Linked DNA regions of Homo sapiens: all the other regions are linked to region 3. The links are contacts of gene promoters, found by promoter capture Hi-C in human tissues and cell types (Jung and others, 2019). All regions are on one chromosome and are shown on one strand. The core of a region is centred on a gene start or on the middle of the fragment in contact, and the rest is flanking DNA. Distances in the headings are between cores, read along the strand shown.

Region 1 (2,758 bases), core at 56-2,555, 440 kb after region 3:
AGCTAAAAGACTGAGTTAAATTGAAAAGACTAGCAAATAGGGATGTCATCAGGTGTGGCATGATTCAGGGATTCAGATGATGTCACCAGGATCCTACTTTGGTTCTCTCCAGTTCTCAGCTCCACCTCTCTGGGTGGGCTTCATGCCCAGCCCAGCTCTCTCTCCTTGTGGTATTAAGTACCTACCGGTACTTAGTAGCCCAAGGCCTTTCTTCTCTCAGGTTTAAATCCAACAGCAAAGAGAAATGGTCTTTGTCTCAGCAGCCTCAGAAAAAGTCTCATGTGCCCATCCCTGCACAGATCACTAACTGGCTCAGGTCAAGATCATATTATCCACCCTGGAGTTGCATGCCTAGCCAAACCAAATCTCATATGTTGGGAGTGAAAAAGGAACTGGTTATCTGGGAGGAGAATTGGAATATGGAAAAGGGAAAGGAAGTAGCATAAGCAAAGTCAAGGAGGTAGGAAAGTAGGCATAGTCTGCATTCTCCCTTCTTCTCCCTGGAAGAAGGAAGAAACACCCTGTGGTATCCTCTTTTGAGTCTCCCTCCTCTGGGGATTTCAGCTTTGCTTTCCTCACAGTGTGCTGGACATCATGCTCTTGAGTGTCCCCACGGGGCCTCAGGCCTGGTGTGCCTTCAATCTCACCTATGCCATCTTCCCCACAACCCTCAATCCCAAACTTGATTCTCCTCTTGACTTTCACTCAGCTAGTCAATAGTGAAACCTAGAAGTCAATGAAACCCCTTTGCATCCTTTACCCTCAAGTCAGTTTTCCAGTTTCTTCGCTGTAGAAAAAGGGAAAATGCATGCTATGAGGAGTGGCAGAAACATTAGATGTTTATTGCAGCGGCCTCTGCAGAAAGCACTTCGGGAGACTGGTGAGAGGGAAACTAGTGTTGAAACAGTTAAGTATCGAGTGTGTGATTAAGAGCCAATAGATGCTCATTTGAGAAAATTGAGAAGCAGAAAAACGGGCTGTAGCTTGAGGAGAAATGGGCAAAAGTCATCTTAAATGGGATAAATCTGAACATGTCTGAAAGCTGAGAAGAGGACCCCAAGGCAAGTAGGAAGACATTGAAGGTGAGAGAGATGCCAGGGCAGTAATTGAAGGAGTACTCACTTTCCAAGAGAACCAAGAAAGGCTGGGGTAGAGAGCAGGAACAGCCCTGGAGGGAGGTGGGGCCCATTCATGCTTCTGAGATGGGGGAAGGACAAATACAAAAGAACTGAGAAGCCCCTGGCAAATGATGGGCTTTCTTAAAGCCAGGCACACCTGTAAAGGTGTATTGTCTTCTTGCTCCCAGGTCTCAGATTTGCACAGCTATTGAGCCTCACTTCTTGGATTATTGGTCTTGTCACCAATAATCCAAGTTCCTCCTAACCCTTCAAGGAAATGGAGCCATTTAATTTCATTGCTGATGCCCTTGACATCTATCTGGCAGGCCGAGGTGAGGGCAGAGCACTGTCCAGTCATATGTTGCCTGCGTACGCCAGCTGTGTTTGGTGCTAACCCTTCAGGTTGAGTTAAGACAGCCACAGCAGACCATATGAAGAGTTCTAAACATGATGGATCATGCCTTCCGAAAGTATCTATTCTTAAGATATAGAAAAGAACAACACAGGCCTATGGGCATTCTTGTCACCTGATCGATCAACTGTGACTACTTCGTAAGCATTTATCTACTCATGGCCCTGAGCCAGACAGCTCAGAAAACCATGGCTCCCTTTCCCAGCTTACTTAAAATCTCAGCAATGGAAGGCATCTTGAGGTCATTGAAAAATAAAAGTGTTTTAGAGTCAGACTGGCCTGGGTTTGAATGCCAACTCTGCTATATACAGTCTGTGTAACCTTGAGCAGGTCCCTACAACACTGCGTGTCCTCAACTTCTTTATGTGCCACCCCACATCCAGGTGGCCCCATATGGCCTTCATTCTTGGTCGCTTGTTTGGCTTCCCCATCAGAAGACACCACCTACCCCTTAGCCTGTTCCTGCAGTTGTAAAACTCTGGCCACCATCTCTGTCTCCTGATTCCCAAACTCTGCAGATTCATCGAGGCTCCCCTGAGACTGAACTGGGTTTTGTCAGGGCCTCTATTGCACACGAATTGAAGGGAACCACAGACCATCAGCATCCAGGTCCACCCCAACTGACTCACAGAGGCTCTGGCTTCCCCACTGGCTGCCCTGAGAGGCTGGATAACATAAATGAGAACTGCAGAGTCACCACCCTACAGGGCCAACTTTCGTAATGAAAGACAGGAGCCTGGAAGAAACCAGCCAGTAAATTCTCACCTGCCCAGCCCACAATGGACCGTTTGCAATGTAGATGTCCTATATGGCCTCTCCAGCATCATCTTGTGAGATGGAGCAACCAGTTGTGTTTTCTTGCAATGTTGTGGCCAGCTCAGTTGTGCATCACCTTGAAACTGCTTCTCTTCCTACTCTACTCTACGCCCCCTTTCCCTTATTTATGATTCCCTGGGATTATGGTCTCGCCCTGCGATAAAGTTTAGTAAGTAAGCTTGGCTCTGAGCTCTATTTTCTGGACAACCCAGACATAGTCTCCGAGTTTTAGTTTCCTGATTTATAAAATAGAATTAATGGCATCTATCTCACAGCACTGTTGGGAAAATTAAAATGAGATTGTGTGTATTAAACACTTAGTCGAGTGGCACATTGTAGGTGCTCAATAAATACGAAAAGTATCGTCAACAATTACAACATGACAGTGATGGTTACCATTTATTGGGTATCT
Region 2 (2,729 bases), core at 127-2,626, 420 kb after region 3:
GTGAGCTCCTGATCTTGGGATGTGCCCAAGGGGCAGGCATGAAAATCTCCTGCAGCTCTGAGGCTCTAAGGCCTGTTTCGTGCATCTGGAAGGACCTTGATTATTGATAGCCTGTCTAGGTTGGCCCCACGTGCCTCCTCAAAGGATTCTGTGATGCCGGAGTATGAACGAGTGAGACCTCACACCTGCTCTTTCCTTTTAATCCTGACATCTGTTTCCCACAGGAAATGTCCAGAGCAAGTCAGAGTGGCCTTTTTCTCTTGGTTTTATTTTCTTCCCTGCTAAGTTGGTCCTCATCCCCTGGATTAGGGCACATTCCCAGTGCATGAGGTCCTAGAAGAGGTGACTTCCCAGGTCACCCAGCCACTGTCCCTCACAGCTCGGTGCAGTCGCTGAAATCAATTCCTGCTCTGTCCCGTACTCACCTCTTTCCAAGCCTGAGCTTATTCATTTGAAAAATGGCTGAATCTCATTGGCCTTGCAGCATTGATGTTTGTGTTCATTGAACAAGCATTCTCTGAGTATCCAGTATGTGCCAGGCACTGCGGTGAATAAAAGAGACAGAGGCTCCCTGTCTGGAGGAAACAGAAAGTAAACATGCAATTCAATGTCAGGGAGTAATAAGAATTTTAAAGAAAAACAAAGCAGGGTGAAGGGATAGTGATTGGTTCTGACTGGGATTGAGGAAGTGAATCAGGGATGGCTTCTTTGAGGAGGTGACTTTCTAAGCATGCAACTGTCCAGGGGAGAGTGTTTTAGGCAGAAGTAACAGCATGTGCAAAGGCCCTGTGATGGGCATGGCTGGCTATGCTGAAAAGCAAGGTCAGGTTGACTGGAGCTCCAGGAGACATACGAGGGTGGGAGGACATGGACCAGCCTGTGCAAGGCCTCCAGGGCCTTAGAGACCTCAGAGGTCTTGAGGAAGGAATCAGAAGGAATCAAAATTTAGAAAGTTTTGAGCAGAGAAGTGGCAGAATCTTTGCCTTCTTGATCTTTCTCATTCCTGCTCTTCACCCAGAGTCTCAGCTGTAAATCTCTAAACCTCTGCAGTCTAAAATGCTTCTAGGACAGCATTGCCCAATAGAAATTTAATGCAAGCCACAAAGGCACTTTTAAAGTTTCCAGTGACCATATTTTAAAAATAAAACAGGGGAAATTAATTTATCATACTATATATATATATATATATATTTTTTTTTTTTTTTTTTTTTTTTTTTTTGAAACAAAGTTTCGCTTTTGTTGCCCAGGCTGGAGTGCAATGGTATGATCTTGGCTCACTGCAACCTCCGCCTCCTGGATTCAAGCAATTCTCCTGCCTCAGCTTCCCAAATAGGTGAGATTACAGGCATGTGCCACCATGCTCGGCTAATTTTGTATTTTTAGCACAGACAGGGTTTCTCCATGTTGGTCAGGGTGGTCTCGAACTCCCAACTTCAGGTGACCTCAAGTGACCCGCCAGCCTCAGCCTCCCCAAGTGCTGGGATTACAGGCATGAGCCACCATGCCTGGCTTTTATACTATATTTTATTTAGCCTCATATATCCAAAGTATTATCATTTCCACATGCAATCAATATAAACAATATTCATGACATATTTCACCTTTTGTCATACTGTCTTCAAAATCTGATGTGTACTGTACACTTATAGCATATCTCAGTTTAGACCAGCCATGTTTCAGGAGCTCAAAGCCACATGTGGCCAGTGGATACTGCATTGAACAGAGAGCTCCTGCAGCCTGGGGTGGGGAAGACACCAGGTTCCTCTGCAGGAGCACCTGGTGAAGGGAGAGAGAGGGAGAAAGAACCCATTCCAGATCACCCTGGGAAGGTGGCGTTGGAATTGACCCTGCCTATTCTGGGGAACCTACCTGGCCTGGCTCAGCTCCCTCTTGGGAAGCAGAGAGGATATAAATTGAGCCCAGAAGTAGAGAGGATATAAATTGAGCCCGACAGACCCAGCATGGCTCTCATCTAATCAGTTCTAAGACTTGAATAAAGAGCCTTTTTAAAGGTCTACTGGAATCAGCGCCAACATTACTTTCTTAAAGGAAATGTTGAGAACGGCCGAACAGCGCTCATTCCCCATGCAGTTTTGAGTAGATACACTCCACCACCTCCCGCTCTGAAACTGATGGAGCCTGGCCCATGTTCAGAAGGCCCTTCTAGCTCATAAAGAGGGATTCAGCAAAGCAGTCCTTTTCCCAGACTGCACCTTCAGGCTAGCTGGTGGCTTAGAGGAACCTGAGAACACTCCCAGTTGACAACACACAGAACAAGTGTTTGATAAGCTGCTGTCAGCTGCCTAAGAGAGCTTAAGGGGTGGAGAAGCGCTGTGCTTTGCTAAAGCAGGGATACCAGCCCTCCTTTGCATCAAGCTAGAGGTAAGGGAGGAGACCACCCCTCATATTGTCTTATGACCAATTTCTGCCTCAAAGAAAAAGTAGGAGTTAAAGAAAAGACAGAAGTGAAATCAGTAGTCAGACAGCCCGGCGCTGCATTTCAGGCCTGGTAGTTAAAAATCAACCCCTGACTTAACTGCTTGTGTTATCTATAGATTCCAGACATTGTATGGAAAAGCATCGTGAAAATCCCTGGCCTGTTCTGCTCTGTTCTGATTACCGGTGCGTGCAGCCCGCAGTCACGTACCCGCTGGTTGCTCAATCGATCACGACCCTCTCACACGGACCCCCTTAGAGCTGTAAGCCCTTAAAAGGGACAGGAATTGCTC
Region 3 (2,700 bases), core at 166-2,665:
TAGGAGGTGTGTGGACAGAAGGGGTCTCTGGAGGCAGCCACTGCTCTTGCTGCCCCTGGGAAACTGATCCTGGCATCTGCTAAAGGGTGTGGGCTGGTGCCCATCCAGGAAACAAGGTGTGGGAAATTATAGGTCCTCTTTGGACCTGTTGTGCAGCCAAAATTGGAGGATTTGCATCACACAGTCTGGCTAGATCTCATCCTAAGATCTCAAGTCAGTCTGACGTCTGTCTCCTGGGGCAGAACTTTGGATTGGGGAATGTGGGAGTGGGGAGGAGCCAGGTGAGCAGGGATTTTTCTACCCACATGACAGCCTTCTGGGGACACCTGCTGGTGGTGATCACATAGCTCTTCAGCCTCTGCAAGGAGATCTTCTTACTGCTAAATGTGAAGCAGCAAGTAGATGGGACGTTGAGTGCATCTAGAAATAGTTACAAAGAAAAAGACTTTGAGGATGTGTTAGGCTTTTCTCAGCTTGAATACAGCAGGGAGCATCTGTATGGGATGCAAAGCAAAGAGGAAGAAATAGATCTTACTCACCCCCAAGCCCAGCACTCCCACCCTAGACCCTGAGGTGAGGTGGGACCTGTGACATGTGCCTCAGGATCTCAAAGGCTCAGCTGCATGGTGGAGACATGTCACAGCCATCTAGGGGAGGCCACGGGCAAGGCCAGTGGGAAAGGTCCTGGGTGTGGTCCCAGATCTGCAGAGTTTGGGACGATCAGATGAGGTCAAAGAAAAGGCCCTAAATCTGGAGTCAGAAGCTTAGGTTTCATTCTTGCTCTGCAATAACCTGGAGGTGGATGGCTAGGGTCCCTTCTGCCTCCAACATGGGCTTCAGCTTTCTATCTTTAAAATTAGATGTTAAAGTGAACCTCTGAGGAGCCTTACTATTCTGGTGGGCTTAGAAGTGGGGCACTTGGCTGGGCCTGGTGGCTCACGCCTGTAATCCCAGCACTTTGGGAGGCCGAGACGGGAGGATCACTTGAGGTCAAGAGTTTGAGACCAGCCTGGCCAACATAGTGAAACCCCTTCTCTACTAAAAATACAAAAATTAGCTGCACGTGATGGCGGGTGCCTGTAATCACAGCTACTCAGAAGGCTGAGGCAAGAGAATCGCTTGAACCTGGGAGGTGAAGGTTGCAATGAGCCAAGATCGCACCCCTGCACTTCAGCCTGGGCAACATAATGAGACTCAATCTAAAAAAAAAGTGGAGGAGCACTCGGGCTTAGGTCTTCCTTGAATAGAGAAACAGAGGGAAAGAGAGGGAGAGTCGAAGGGAGGTGACTTACCTGGCTGAGCAAGTCCCTGGGGGTTGAAAGCTGCTGTCATGAGCAGCAGGCACAGAAGCACTGCAGAGACTTTCATGTTGAAGGTTAAGAGTTGGAGATTTCACAATGTTTCTTTGCCTCTCTGCTCCTCTGGCTGTTCCGCCGGCCTTTTATAGGGAGTGGAGAAGCTTGGAACTCTCAGAGGACCTTGGCCTGAGCAGGGCGTTGACCAAGTCATGATGAAGGGGGATCCTGAATCTGCTGAGCTGGAGCTGGGCACCAAAGACTTTTCTAGGAAATGCAAGAGGGAAGCTGAGGGCTGAAACAGCATGGCATGGCTTCCTTCTGGCTGTTCAGGCCACAAGGAGCCAGAGAGGAGAAAGGGACACAGACGCGCCCCAGCCATTCACCATGGGAAGCCATAAAGGAGCTGTTTTCTTCTTACTTTCTCCAACAGGAAAGAGAAAAACAATGAAAATTAACTCCTGTAGAGAAAGAGTGCTGTGCTAAGGACTCTGTTCACGTTATATATTTAGTTTGAGGAGGTACATACCATTATTATCATGCCCATTTCATAGAAGAGGAAACGGATGCAGAGAGATTAAATAACTTGACCAAAATCTTATGGGAAATGAGAGGGAAAGCTAGAAGAGAAAGCTGGTCTGCTTATATTTTATCACCAAGGCAGTTTCAACTTTTGTTTAGCAGCAGAAGTCTTTTTCCAAGTCAACTTTTATGTGGAAGTCTAATATCTGAAACAGATTAAGTCAGATTTCTGATGACAGGGGCTCCTTACATTACATATTGTGTCCCCTTCTGCCCCTCAGGCCCAGAGGGACATGGTTCAAACACCTCTGATTGATGCAGGCCCCGTGTTTCCAGGAAGGACCATTGGGTTTCTAGAGCTGTTGATGGGAGGGCTGGGGTGGCCCTCAGAGCAAAGAAGTGAGGTGTTTGGCCCATTCCTGGGCTCCTCCTGCGAGGGGCACATATCTGGGAGCTGGGAGGTGGGGAGGGAATGGCTTAAAATGGTTGAACATGTCCCTTTCCCACTCATCCCTAGCTCCAAGACTTGGCACAGTTTTTGTGCCTTCCTGGAATACTCATCCCTCTGCATTCCACTATAGCAAAATAAGCCCAGTGAAAGTAAAGGGAAGAAATAAAGAGCTAGGATTAGAGAAATAGGAAACAGTAAATATTAGAAAGGATAGATGAAGCCCAAAGCTGGTTCTGTAGCCTATAATTAAGCTAAAACTCTCCTGAACTGAAAATGAAAAAAAAAAGAAAAAAGGGGCTGAGGCGGGGGGATCACTTGAGGTCAAGAGTTCTAGAGCAGCCTGGACAACATGGTAAAACCCTGTCTTTACTAAAAAAAATACAAAAATTACCCAGGCATGGTGGCACATGCCTGTAATCCCAGCTACTTGGG

The links. Contacts are between HindIII fragments. The study calls those that stand out against the background at their distance.
Region 1: a fragment that was not itself captured here is called in contact with the fragment with the promoter of CCL13 in region 3 in 1 of the 25 tissues and cell types used here (mesenchymal stem cells).
Region 2: a contact is called between a fragment that was not itself captured here and the fragment with the promoter of CCL13 in region 3, in 1 of the 25 tissues and cell types used here (mesenchymal stem cells).

Annotation. Positions count from the first base shown.
Region 1 is chr17:33,913,766-33,916,523 of GRCh38, reverse strand. It overlaps a transcript of ASIC2 not described here. Among named protein-coding and RNA genes, the nearest start is that of LINC01989, 270 kb to the left of the region's middle. The HindIII fragment of the contact is 8,443 bases long and covers 1-2,758 here.
Region 2 is chr17:33,931,204-33,933,932 of GRCh38, reverse strand. It overlaps LOC124903983 (a long non-coding RNA gene), which reads left to right and starts at 1,287. Exons shown (of 2, transcript XR_007065719.1): 1 at 1,287-1,333; 2 at 2,556-2,729. It also overlaps a transcript of ASIC2 not described here. RefSeq lists an enhancer at 2,429-2,723. The HindIII fragment of the contact is 5,499 bases long and covers 1-2,729 here.
Region 3 is chr17:34,355,195-34,357,894 of GRCh38, reverse strand. It overlaps CCL13 (C-C motif chemokine ligand 13), which reads right to left and starts at 1,415. Exons shown (of 3, transcript NM_005408.3): 1 at 1,293-1,415; 2 at 306-420. The coding sequence starts at 1,368. The HindIII fragment of the contact is 2,821 bases long and covers 1-2,342 here.